Linked DNA regions of Homo sapiens: regions 2 and 3 are each linked to region 1. The links are contacts of gene promoters, found by promoter capture Hi-C in blood cells and fetal thymus (Javierre and others, 2016). All regions are on one chromosome and are shown on one strand. Each heading gives the region's core, a stretch centred on a gene start or on the middle of the fragment in contact. The rest is flanking DNA. Distances are from core to core; before and after follow the strand shown. Region 1 holds the start of ZIM3 (zinc finger imprinted 3). Region 2 holds the start of NLRP8 (NLR family pyrin domain containing 8). Region 3 overlaps LOC124904784 (a long non-coding RNA gene).

Region 1 (4,581 bases), core at 2,082-4,581:
AAACTCACCACAACTGAAACTCACCACAACAGATGTCTCCTTGCCCCCTCCCTAGTCTTGCTTTCTTACACATTGTTATATTTCTTCCATGCTGTATAAACCCCTAGTTTTAGTGAGTTAGGGAGATGGATTTGAGGCTGAGCTCCCATTTCTTCACCTACGGCAGCTGATTAAAGCTTCTTCCTTGGCAATACCCATTGTCTCAGTCATTGGCTTTCTGTGCAGCCAGTAGCAGGACCTAGACCAAACTCCTGGTGTTTCCGTAACCAAGCTTTTTTTTTTTTTTTTTTTGAGACAGGGTCATGCTCTGTCACCCAGGCTGGAGTGCAGTGGCACAATCATGGCTCACTGCAGCCTCAACCTCCCAGGTTCAAGCGATTCTCCCACCTCCGCCTCCAGAGTAGCTGAGACTACAGGTGTACGCCACCACCACCACACCCAGCTAATTTTTTGTAGAGACGGGATCTCGCCATGTTGCCCAGGCTGGTTTCAAACTCCTGAACTCAAGCGATCCGCCTGCCTTGGCCTCCTAGATTGCTGAATTACAGGTGTGAGCCACCATGCCCAGCCTTGAGCTTTACTTGAAATGTTTCAGCTTTAATAGGAAAGCAGAAAGTAGAGTGTGTGTTACCTTTTAATAGAAGTATGGAAGGAAGGAGGAAAATATGCCAAAAGGTTAGCACAGTTAATTCTGAGCAAGAGGAACGTGGGTCATACGTTTATTCATTATGAGATTTAGATTTTTTTGAAAAGCTCACCTGGGAATTGTTCATTTCCTGTTCTTCACCAGTCAGTAAAGTCTTGGGAAGGCAGATCTGAGGGAAAATGGAAAAGAACCATGAAATAGCAGAATTCGCTTTGGAAGTTGGGGATCATCCAGCATAGAATGCTCCACACCCTGGATAAAAGCTCTCCCTAACCCACTCAGAAAAGCCCTGACTTGTACCTCAGTGATCCCCTTCTGAAGGTCTTTTTTTTTTTTGTTTTGGTTTTTTTGTGTTTGTTTATTTATTGAGACTGGGTCTCAAAGAAGAAAGTGCAAGCCAGGCACGGTGGCTCACGCCTGTAATCCCAGCACTTTGGGAGGCTGAAGCAGGCAGATCACCAGAGGTCAGGAGTTCGAGACCAGCCTGTCCAACATGGTGAAACCCCGTCTCTACTAAAAATACAAAATTGGCTGGGCGCGGTGACTCATGCCTGTAATGCCAGCACTTTGGGAGGCCGAGGCAGGCGGATCACGAGGTCAGGAGATCAAGACCATCCTGGCCAACACGGTGAAACCCTGTCTCTACTAAAAATACAAAAACAAAATTAGCCAGGCGTGGTGGCGGGCGCCTGTAGTCCCAGCTACTCGGGAGGCTGAGGCAGGAGAATGGCGGGAACCCGGGAGGCGGAGCTTGCAGTGAGCCGAGATCGCGCCACCGCACTCCAGCCTGGGCGACAGAGCGAGACTCCGTCCCAAAAAAAAAAAAAAAGAGAGAGAGAGAAAGCTAAACAGCAGTTCAACAGCACCTTTAAAACAAGCCTGTGCAAAGACAATGAGGCAAGCATCAGATCAGCTAGAGCACAGTAAGGAAGGCCGAGAGCAGAAACCATGAATCCTGAAGCAGCTGTGGTCGTGACGAATAACGCCGCAGTGAACATGGGATGCAGATAGCCCTTCAGCTTTGCCATAAGCGGGACAGCTGGATCATTGGTAATTCTTTGCCAAAAGCGTAGATTTTGGCCACGCGTGGCAGCTCACACCTATAATCCCAGCACTTTGGAAAGCCAAGGTGGGAGGATCAGTTGAGCCCAGGAGTTACTTTTTTTTTTTTTTTTTTAAGACCAAGTCTTGCTCTGTCGCCCAGGCTGGAGTGCAGTGGCACAGTCTCGGCTCACTGCAACCTCTGCCTCCCGGGTTCAAGGGATTCCCCTGCCTCAGCCTCCCGTGTAGCTGGGATTACAGGCATGCACCACCATGCCCAGCTAATTTTTGCATTTTTAGTAGAGACAAGGTTTTACCATGTTGTTCAGGCTGGTCTCGAGCTGCTGATCTCAAGTGATCCGCCGGCCTCAGCCTCCCAAAGTGCTGGGATTATAGGCGTGAACCACCACATCCAGCCAAGCCCAGGAGTTTGAGACCAGCCTGTGCAACATAGTGAAACCTCTGTCTCAATGTTTAAGTAATAAAGTTTTTATTTTTTATTTTATTTTATTGAGGCAGGGTCTCATTCTGTCACCCAGGCTGGAGTGCAGTGATGTGATCCCGGCTCACAGCAGTTTAAAAATCCCTGGCTCAAGCAATCCTCCTACCTTGGCCTCCTGAATAGTTAAGACTATGGGTGCATGCTACCACATCAGCTAACTTTTTATTTTTTGTAAAGAAGGGATCTTGCTATGTCACCTAAACTGGTCTCAAACTCCTAGGCTCAAGCAATCCTCCTCCCTCAGCCTCCCCAAATCCTGGGATTACATGCATGAGCCACCACACCAGCCAGGAATAAAGTTTTAAATAAGTAAATATGTTTTTAAAAAGAATAAACTTGCCGGGCACAACTTTAATGTTTATTAAAGTTTGAGGAGTCCAATTCTAGCACAAAAAATATATATAATTTTAAAAAACAGTAAATTGTAAATGCTTTCACCACAAAAATAGATTAATTAGCTTGATTTAATCATCCCCCCAATGTAAACATGTATCAAAACATCACATTGTACCCCATAAATAAACACAATTATTATTTGTCAATAAAAAGTTTTTAGAAGTAGCTGTGGGCCAGCAGTAATGCTAAGGACTGGAGGGCCACGAAAATAATTTTGAGTGTCCTGGGAGCATCACTTTTCAATATGACAACTAAAAAAAAAATCTAAACTACCAATGTAAAATATTTAGCTTATTCCAGCAAATAGGAGAGGTAGAAAAATGAAACTAAGTAAAAATGCAAAACAAACAAACAAACAAAACCCAGACATTTGGTTTTCAGGGAGAAAAAAAAATCAGCTTACCTCCAGTGGAATCTGGCATAAATTAGCAAGTTGATTGATTTCTGATGCCTGTGGTCTTTTCTTCTGAAAGGGACTGAAAATGAAAAGGCGTGTATACTGAAAAGCTACACTAATGACTAAAACTTAATCGGCCCTCTACCCGCTGTATTCCGCATCATAATCCAGTCAAGAAACAACCCAAAACACTCACTTCCTATCAAAAGCCCCACCTGATCCTATCAGGCCACATCAAAATTTCAATTCCCAATTCTTTCCTCGACTTCTCCAAAACTGAATGAACTCTCATAAAAATTGTGATTGTGAAAGCTTAATTTTCAAATCTGCCCAATCAGTTTCCAATGGAATTTTTTTTAAGTTCATGCAAGTAAAAATTTTTTACCTTAACTTTGAAATAGAAAGCATGGAAAACATTATCCAAATGTCAGAGGATGAAAATAAATTAAAACAACAAAAATTGGCTGGGCACGGTGGCTCATGCCTGTAATCCCAGCACTTTGGGAGGACAGGAGTTCAAGACCAGCCTGGCCAACATGGGGAAACCCCGTCTCTACTAAAAATACAAAAATTAGCTGGTCATGGTGGCACGTGCCTGTAATCCCAGCTACTTGGGAGGCTGAGGCAGGAGAATCGCTTGAACCCGGGAGACGGAGGCTTCAGTGAGCCAAGATCGTGCCACTGCACTCCAGCCTGGGCAATGAGCGAGACTCCATCTCACGTCTCAAAAAAAAAAAAAGAAAGGAAAAGAAAAAAGAAATAGGGCCAGCGGAGGTGGAACAATGCCTTAAAGTGCTCTCCGCCCGACAGAAAGAATTCAGGCTCCAACCTCCAACTGGCAAAATCTCTTCAGCTGTACTAATACTCTCAAAATGAGATCAACATGCCAATCCATCCCCACCCTAGTCTGGGTGTTGAATTTAAACACAGGCTACATGCCCTTGCCTGCAGACATGGAGACCTTCCAAAATTGAGCGTCCAACTGAATTCCAAGAGATTAAACCAGACTTCATGGGACAGGATGCACCAGACTAGACCTCCTCCCAGGAGAAGAGGTATCCAAAGATCGTATTAGCAAATGACCCTTGGCGGTGTGCGGTGGCTCAAGCCTGTAATCCCAACACTTTGGGAGACTGAGGCAGACAGATCACCTGAGGTCAGGAGTTCAAGACCAGCCTGGTCAACATGGTGAAATCCTGTCTCTACTAAAAATACAAAAATTAGCTGGGCATGGTGGTACACACCTGTAGTCCCAGCTACTCAGCTACTCAAGAGGCTGAGGCAGAATTGCTTGAACCCAAAACACAGAGGTTGCTGTGAGCTGAGATCATGCCACTGCACTCCAGCCTGGGCGACAGAGGGAGACTCCATCTCAAAAAAAAAAAAAAGAAAAAAAAAGCAAAATGACCCAGCCAGCCTGAATCCCAGCCGCCGTGTCGGACTACTATAGTCCCAGATACTTGGAAGGCTGAGGTGGGAGGATCAATTGAGCCCAAGAGGTCAAGGCTGCAGTGAGCAAGGATCTTGCCACTGCATTCCAGCCTGAGAGACAGAGCAAGCCTGCAGGTGAACGGAAAGGGGTGGAGTGATTTTATATAT
Region 2 (4,581 bases), core at 850-3,349, 1.2 Mb before region 1:
CACCACGCCCAGCTACTTTTTGTGTTTTTAATAGAGGCAGGGTTTCACCATGTTGGCCAGGCTGGTCTGGAACTCCTGGCCTGAAGTGATCCACCTGTCTTGGCCTCCCAAAGTGCTGGGATTACAGGCGTGAGCCACCGCACCCAGCCAGTCCTGCAAATTTCTTAAAGCTGCAGCTCACTGTGGCTGGAACGTGGTCAGCAATGGTCATGGAATAAGTAGAGGTAGAAAATGTGTGACTGTGTTAGGCTCCTCCATGCAGCGCCACCCACTGGACGGAAGGAGCACTAGCAAGAGTCAGCCACCCAGGAGCATATCACCTTTGTCCTGGGACCAAGCCCAGCTACTCTGGACCCAAGGGAGGACTGAGTCAATTAAACAAGTTTATCCAGATGTTTGGGTGTCACATAAGTTATAAGAGGGAGAAGTGTTAAAGAAGAAGCTATTGGCCAGGTGCAGTGGCTCACACCTGTAATCCCAGCACTTTGGGAGGCTGAGGTGGGTGGATCACTTGAGGTCAGGAGTTTGAGACCAGCCTGGCCAACATAGTGAAACCCCATCTATACTAAAAATACAAAAAAATTAGCCAGGCATGGTGGCAGGTGCCTGTAATCCCAGCTACTCAGGGGGCTGAGGCAAGGGAATTGCTTGAACCAGGGAAGTGGAGGTTGCAGTGAGCCGAGATCACACCACTGCACTCCAGCCTGGGAAACAGAGTGAGACTCTGTCTCTAAGTAAATAAATAAATAATAAATAAATAAACTATTATTGGAAGTTGGGGCAGGGGGGACAAAAATACACCCATGATCCTTTTTATTTTATTTCTTTTTTACATTTCTTTTAGATACAGGGGTACATGTGCAGGTTTGTTATATAGGCAAACGTGTTATGGGGGTGGGTTTGTTGTACAGGTTATCTCATCACCCAGGTATTAATCCCAGTACCCATTAGTTATTTTTCCTGATCTTCTCCCTCCTCCCACCCTCCAGCCTCTAGCAGACTCCAGTGTGTGGTGTTCCCTCTATGTGTCCATGTGTTCTCATCGTTTAGCTACCACTTATAAATGAGCACATGTGGTATTTGGTTTCCTGTTCCTGTGTTAGTTTGCTAAGGAATAATGGTCTCTGGCTCCATCTATGTTCCTGCAAAGGTCATGATCTCATTCTTTTTTATGGCTGCATAGTATTCCATGGTGTTTATGTACCACATTTTTTTATCCGGTCTATCACTGATGGGCATTTAGGTTGATTCCATGACTTTGCTATTGTGAGTAGTGCTGCAATGAACATACACAGGAATGTGTCTTTATAATAGAATGATTTATATTCCTTTGGATATATATCCAGTAATGGGATTGCTGAGTTGAATGGTAGTTCTCTTTTTAGGTCTTTGAGGAGTTGCCCCACTGTCATCCAGAGTAGTTGAACTAATTTACACTCCCACACACAGAGTATAAGTGTTCCTTTTTCTCTGCGACTTCACCAGCATCTGTTATTGCTTGACTTTTTAATAATCACCATTCTGACTGGTGTGAGATGACATCTCGTTGTGGTTTTGATTTGCATCTCTCTAATACATGATCCATTTTTTAAGAATACAGCATCTGTTATTGCTTGACTTTTTAATAATCACCATTCTGACTGGTGTGAGATGACATCTCGTTGTGGTTTTGATTTGCATCTCTCTAATACATGATCCATTTTTTTAAGAATAAAAACTTTGTTGAATTTGAGATCACTTTTAATCTAATGGAGCCTTCTAACCAACCATATATTTTCTAGATTTTAGCTTCACTGAATTATTTTACCTGCTTCTAATTTTTCTTTTCGCTAAACCTTTTGTGAAGGCTTTGATATTTTGCTTGCCTCTTCCCCAAAAGAAGTCATGGAGAATAGAAACTACAAACAATCCATTAGTCTAATGGACTAATCCCAAACATTCCATGCATCTTCAGTTTTTCCATAGGGCAGAGAATCTTTGAGGAAAGGAGGTAAAGGGAGTACCCGGCACGCAGAATACCTGCCAAGTAAGCATTACACGAATCTGTTTTCTTGGGTAGTGTTTTCATCTTCTTGTTTTATTGTTTTATGTCTCTGCAGGTCTCGTGTTTCTCTCTTCCAATCGGTTGTCTTTATCGTGGACACTGAGGTGTTCTCTGCCTTGACTAAAGATGAGTGACGTGAATCCACCCTCTGACACCCCCATTCCCTTTTCATCCTCCTCCACTCACAGTTCTCATATTCCGCCCTGGACATTCTCTTGCTACCCCGGCTCCCCATGTGAAAATGGGGTCATGCTGTACATGAGAAACGTGAGCCATGAGGAGCTACAACGGTTCAAGCAGCTCTTACTGACTGAGCTCAGTACTGGCACCATGCCCATCACCTGGGACCAGGTCGAGACAGCCAGCTGGGCAGAGGTGGTTCATCTCTTGATAGAGCGTTTCCCTGGACGACGCGCTTGGGATGTGACTTCGAACATCTTTGCCATTATGAACTGTGATAAAATGTGTGTTGTAGTCCGCAGAGAGATAAATGGTGAGTGTTGATCTGGTGGATAAAGTGGGGGTGGGCTTGGCTGCTGGGCAGCTAAACTACTCTAGTCACCACCCCTATCACTTATTGGCCTTCTGAGCAAGAAAGCAAACAGTGGAGGAAGATAATGGATCTAACCCAAAGGCAAAGACTGTCATACGGGCATTTTTTTAATTTTATTTTTCTGAGATGGGGTTTCGCTCTTCTTGCCCAGGCTGAAGTGCAATGGCACAATCTCGGCTCACTGCAAACCCCGCCTCCCAGGTACAGGTGATTCTCCTGCCTCAGCCTCCTGAGTAGCTGGGATTACAGGCACCCACCACCATGCCTGGGTAATTTTTTTTTATTTTTAGTAGAGACGGGGTTTCACCATGTTGGCCAGGCTGGTCTCGAACTACTGACCTCAGGTAATCCGCCTGCCTTGGCCCCCCAAAGTGCTGGGATTGCAGGTGTGAGCCACTGTGCCCAGCCCATATGGGCCTATTTTTTAAAAACTTAACTGAATACTGCTTATATGAGGTGAACGTTAAATGAAGTCATAGAGAAGTAGGAAGTAAAATAGTGGAAAAGCATATGCTATGGAAACAGCAGAAGACAGCTGGTATAGCTATGGTGATGTCAGGAGTGCTATATTTAAAGCAAGAAGGTTAAACACTTTAAAAGGCCATTTCGCAGCAACAAAGGGTGAATCCCACTGGAGGATATTGTAATCCAAAACCTCATCTTCAATATGAATAAAGCAGAGCTGGACTACAGTCATCCCCTTATCCAAGGTTTTGCTTTCTGAAGTTTGGGTTGATCATGGCCAAAAATAGATGAGTACAGTACACTGAGATATTCTGAGACAGAGAGAGACCACATTTACATACCGTTTATGATAGTATAGTATTATAATTGTTCTATTTCATTATTATTGTTAATCTCTTACTGTACCTAATTTATAATTTAAACTTTTATCATAGATCGGTATGTATTTTTTTTCTATTTTGAGATGGAGTCTTCATTCTGTCACACAGGCTGGAGTGCAGTGGTGTGATCTCAGCTCACTGCAACCTCCACCTCCCAGGTTCAAGCAATTCTCATGCCTCAGCCTCCCCAGTAGCTGGGATTACAGGTGCGCACCACCACACCCAGCTAATTTTTGTATTTTTAGTAGAAACGGGGTTTCACCATGTTGGCCAGGCTGGTTTCAAACTCCTGACCTTAGGTGATTTGCCTGCCTCGGCCTCCCAAAGTGCTGGAATTACAGGTGTGAGCCACCACACCCGGCCTAGATATGTATTTAAAAAAATCAGTATCCACATTGTTCAGTACTATCCACAGTTTCAGATATCCACCGGGGATCTTGGAACATAGACCCTGCAGAGAAGGGGGGACTACTGTATTAAAGGAAAATACACCAATCCAGAAACATGATAGGAGCTGTGAACCCGCCTCTCCCAATAGCTGATATTACAAGTAGTCAGTCTCATTGGTAAGAATGGAGAAAACGTCAGCTCCACAGTTTTAAACATAAACACAGGAGAGTGGGTGCCTTACGTCTCCTTAGCCACTGGCACCCCAACAGCTGGCTCAGCACCTAGCATGTCATAGGTGCTCAAATATTAGATGGCTAGAGAGTAATTGATTGTGAAAAGGGACTTTCTTTTGATAAGGCAGCCTAGGAAGTCCTCTTTGAGGAAATGATGCTAAGGTTGAGACCTAACACAGGAGGAAATAGCTCATCATGTGAAAAGGAGAGAGAGTCACCGGAAAAGAAAATCAGAGGGGATGGAAACCCCGTGACCCAGTGGTAGAGAAAATCTTAGTGTTAAACAGAAAATGTTAATATTTATGAAAACCTGATGAAAAATACACAGAGAGGCCAGGCACGGTGGCTCACGCCTGTAATCCCAGCACTTTGGGAGGCAGAGGTGGGTGGATCACCCAAGGTCAGGAGTTCAAGACCAGCCCGGCCAACATGGTGAAACCCAGTCTCTACTAAAACTACAAAAAAAAAAAAAATAGCCGGGCGTGGTGACGGGTGCCTGTAATCCCAGCTATTCGG
Region 3 (4,581 bases), core at 2,082-4,581, 1.0 Mb after region 1:
CTTGTTTTTGTTTTTTGAGACAGAGTCTCATTCTGTCACCCAGGCTGGAGTGCAATGGCATGATCTTGGCTCACTGCGACCTTCACCTCCTGGGTTCAAGCAATTCTCTGCCTCGGCCTCTCAAGTAGCTGGGATTCAGGCACCCGCCACCACACCTGGCTAATTTTTGTATTTTTAGTAGAGACAGGGGTGTCGCCATCTTGGCCAGGCTGGTCTTGAACTCCTGACCTTGTGATCCACCCACGTTGGCCTCTCAAAATGTTGGGACTACAGGCGTGAGCCACCGTGCCTGGCCCACTAAACAATATTCTTATCAATGAATACCACTACATACATGACTCATTGTAAAACAACATTCAGATTTAATAAACCATAAATGCACAGGGAAAAACCCCTGAAAATTATGATTTTGGGAATGCTTTTGGTCAAAACACTCAACTTCTTAGACTTGCAAACAGTTCAGTGTAGAAAAGCCTTATATATGAAATATACGTAGTAAATTTTTTAAGTGTAGCACAAGTCTCAGTCAATGTAAGCGAATTCATGTTAGAGAGAGTTGAGTTGAATGTAAGGAATGTGGAAAAGTGTATTCAGAGCTCCTCTCATCTTTGTTTTGAGAGCACTCACACAGTTGACAAACCCTCCAGATGTTCTGAATGTGAGAAATCCCTGTTTATGGTAAATACTTTCTGACATCAGAGAAGTCATACTGGAGAGAGACCATATAAATGTAGTATGTGTAAAGAAGTCTTTAAACAGAGCTCAACCCCACTGATGTATGAGCAAACTCTCTCAGGAAATAGACCTTACAAATGTGTTGAGTGTTGGAGAGTCTTTATTAAGAAATATTTCTTTCAGTATGTTTCAGAACTTATACAGGAGAACAATACTATAAATGTAATCGCTGTAGCAAAGGCTGTAGACACAAATTATACCTTATTCAATATGAGACAATTTATACTTGTGGGAAATTATATATTTGCAGTGAATTTAGGAAATTCTTCTAAAGAAGTGAACACTTTTACCCTATAGCTAAGAATCTATAGAGACACCTTATGAAGGGAATCATTCAGGGAAAGGTTTTACACTTTGCTCCTCCACTACTCAAAAATCACAGAAGACACACTGGAGAGCAAAGTGATGGATACAGTCATCGTGGGAAAGGCTTCAGACGTAGCCTAGCCCTTATGATGTGACATCAGAGGACTCATACTGAGGAAAACCCCATACATGTAATTTGCGTGGAAGAGCATTCAGGAGTTGTTCTCATATTATTGAACGTAAGAGGACTCATACTGGAGAACACTATGAATGCAGTCAGTATTGGCAAGCTTTCAACCATGGCTTTTACCTTATTTGACACCAGGAAATTCAAACAAATTAGAAAAACTCATTGAAAAAAGATCAATGTGGAAAAGCTATTGGTTGGAATTCCATTTTATTTGACATCAGGGATAAAGGAGGCAAAAGCCACCAGTTATTTTTTAACTCTTAAGTATCTGAATGTAACAAGACTGCAAACTTGTGACTCCCTGCAGCCACAGATCAGCAGGGATAAGCAGTTCTATTCTACATATGTCCCTAATTTGCCATAGAAACACCATTTAATGGGGACTCAGGGTCTAGGCCTGATGAACAATGTCTCATAGAAATGTCTGGCCATATGCGGCTGGGCACAGTGGCTCACGCCTGTAATCCCAGCACTTTGGGAGTCCGAGGCGGGTGGATCACGAGGTCAGGAGATCAAGACCATCCTGGCTAGCACCGTGAAACCCCGTCTCTACTAAAAATACAAAAAAAAAAAATTAGCTGGGTGTGGTGGTGGGCGCCTGGAGTCCCAGCTACTCAGGAGGCTGAGGCAGGAGAATGGTGTGAACCCAGGAGGCAGAGCTTGCTGTAAGCCGAGATCGTGCCACTGCACTCCAGCCTGGGTGACAGAGCAAGACTCCGTCTCAAAAAAAACAAGAAAAAAAGAAAAAGAAAAAGAAATGTCTCCCATATGCCTGTAATCCCAGCTACACAGGAGGCTGAGGCAGGAGAATAGCTGAACCCAGGAGGTGGAGGTTGCAGTGAACCAAGATCACACCACTGCCCTCCAGCCCGGGCAACAGAGCAAAACTCCATCTCAAAAAAAAAAAAAAAAATGGTTGCCATAGATAATCATGGCTGGGCACAGAGGCTCACACCTGTAATCCCAGCACTTTTGGAGGGCAAGGCAGGTGGATCACTTGAGCTCAGGAGTCCAAGACCAGCCTGTGCAACATGGAGAAACCCCGTCTCTAATAAAAATACAAAAATTAGCTGTGCGTGGTGGTGCATTCCTGTAGTCCCAGCTACTTGGGAAGTGAGGACTGCTTGAGGGGGTCAAGGCTACAGTGAGCTGAGATGGTACCACTGCACTCCAGCCTGGGTGACTAAACGAGACCCTGTCTAAAAGAAAAGAAAAGAAGAGAAATGGTTGTCATAGGTAATCACATGTAAATTTTTTTTTTTTTAAAGAGTGAGCAACAGTAAGATTTATTGCAAAGAGCGAAAGAACAAAGCTTCCACAGTGTGGAAGGGGACCCAAGCGGGTTGCCCATAAATGTTATCAGTGGCAACAGCGTATCTGTTTTTCTACATCACGTATGAATAAAAGAACCGTCAACCTTGAAGAATGGTGCAGGAATCATATGGCAACAGCGTATCTATTTTTCTACATCACGTATGAATAAAAGAACCGTCAACCTTGAAGAATGGTGCAGGAATCATACACCTTTTAGCATCATGGGGATCCTTATGTGTATAATTTTATGATAGTCCTAGATGAGGGCTGAAGGATATGCTATCAATTTTTTTCTGCATAATCCAAATATTATCACTCCAAACAAATCAGAGAGCTTTATACTAACTTGCTAATACTTTGCCAATAGCATTCTTCTATCTACTTGAATAGAAGCATCATAAAGAGTTGTATGTTGGCCAGGCACGGTGACTCACACCTGTAATCCCAGCATTTTGGGAGGCCGAGGCAGGAGGATCACCTGAGGTCAGGAGTTTGAGACAAGCCTGGCCAACATGGTGAAACCCTGTCTCTAGTAAAAATAGAAAAATTAGCTGAGTGTGGTGGCACATGCCTGTAATCCCAGCTACTTGGGAGGCTAAGGCAGGAGAATCAGTTGATCCCGGGAGGTAGAGGTTGCAGTGAGCCAAGGTTGTGCCATTGCACTCCAGCCTGGGTGACAAGAGCAAAACTCCATCTCAAAAAAATAAAAAAAATGAGTTGTACGTATCTTCACATTTCTAAGGGCATGTCCAATGTCTTGGCAGGGTTAAAAAGACATCATAGTCTGGTGAAGTACCCATACTCCAAAACTAGTGCAAACTTCACAAGTTTCATTGCAAATCCCTTACAAAGAGCACAGGGTATGTATAAGCAGCATTGGTTTCTCTTCTGAAACCCTGGACACTAGAAGATAAGTGAAGATTCCAGAAACACAAAGACTCTGATTTCAGGATTTGATGCTCAGCAAATATATCATTCACACATATGAGGAGAGAGTAAGCATTTTCAGACCTGTTAGCATTCAAAATTTGTATTCTTTCTGGAAAAACTGCCCAAGAGAACATAATAGTAATTTCTTACAATGGAAGTATGAGCCATGTCCCCAAAAGACATCTAAAAGGACACTCATAGAAGCATTAGTCATAAGGGGCCAAAACTGGATACAGCCCAGCAGTCCATCAATAATAAAATGTATAAACAAAATGTGGTACATCCATAGTGGAATACTACTCAGCAATTTACCAAACATTAACTACTGATACATGCAGCAACTTGGATGAATCTCTAACACATTATGTTGACACAGAAAACCATAGACTATATGATTCCATTTATATGAAGTTTGAGGACAGAAAAAAAACTTATGATGATAATCAGGATAGTGGTTAACTCTGGGAGATATTAACCAGGAAGTGGTACAGGGTTTTGGAAATATATTTTCTGTTGACCTGTGTGATGGATTTTTATATATGGACATTATATATTTATATATTTAGACATATATAAAAAAACTCATCAAGTTGTGAAGTTGAGGACTTTATGCCTATATATATGTTTATGTGTATATATATGTTTAAAGCTTATATAGTTTATGTATATAAAGGTTACATATAAACTTTAATTTAATTAATTAATTTTTTGAGACAACAGTCTCACTCTGTTGCCCAGGCTGGAGTGCAGTTGTGTGATCTCTGCTCACTCCAGCCTCTGCCTCCTGGGTTTAAGTGATTCTCCTGCCTCAACCACCTGAGGAGCTGGGATTACAAGCAAGCACCACCACACCTGGCTAGTTTTTGTATTTTTAGTAGAGACAGAGTTTCACCATGTTGGCCAGGCTAGTCTTGAACTCCTGATCTCAAGTGATCCTAATGCCTTGACCTCCCAAAGTACTGGGATTACAGGTGTGAGCCACCGTGACTGGACTAAACTTTAATTTTAAAAGTTTTAAAACGGCCGGGCGTGGTGACTCGTGCTTGTAATCTCAGCACTTTGGGAGGCCGAGGTGGGCGGATCACGAAGTCAGGAGATCAAGACCA

Evidence for each region. The method cuts DNA at HindIII sites, captures the fragments that hold promoters and counts their contacts. A CHiCAGO score of 5 or more calls a contact.
Region 2: the fragment with the promoter of NLRP8 here is called in contact with the fragment with the promoter of ZIM3 in region 1 in 3 of 17 cell types (M2 macrophages, fetal thymus and M0 macrophages); the score reaches 8.9 in M2 macrophages.
Region 3: a fragment that was not itself captured here is called in contact with the fragment with the promoter of ZIM3 in region 1 in 1 of 17 cell types (activated CD4 T cells); the score reaches 5.0 in activated CD4 T cells.

The regions. Positions count from the first base shown.
Region 1 is chr19:57,141,871-57,146,451 of GRCh38, forward strand. It overlaps ZIM3 (zinc finger imprinted 3), which reads right to left and starts at 3,332. Exons shown (of 5, transcript NM_052882.1): 1 at 2,989-3,332; 2 at 759-815. The coding sequence starts at 773. The HindIII fragment of the contact is 22,671 bases long and covers 3,293-4,581 here.
Region 2 is chr19:55,945,733-55,950,313 of GRCh38, forward strand. It overlaps NLRP8 (NLR family pyrin domain containing 8), which reads left to right and starts at 2,100. Exons shown (of 10, transcript NM_001433706.1): 1 at 2,100-2,537. The coding sequence starts at 2,171. The HindIII fragment of the contact is 8,931 bases long and covers 1-4,581 here.
Region 3 is chr19:58,165,699-58,170,279 of GRCh38, forward strand. The region is part of intron 1 of LOC124904784 (a long non-coding RNA gene); the gene reads left to right. Among named protein-coding and RNA genes, the nearest start is that of ZNF274, 15 kb to the right of the region's middle. The HindIII fragment of the contact is 1,581 bases long and covers 2,542-4,122 here.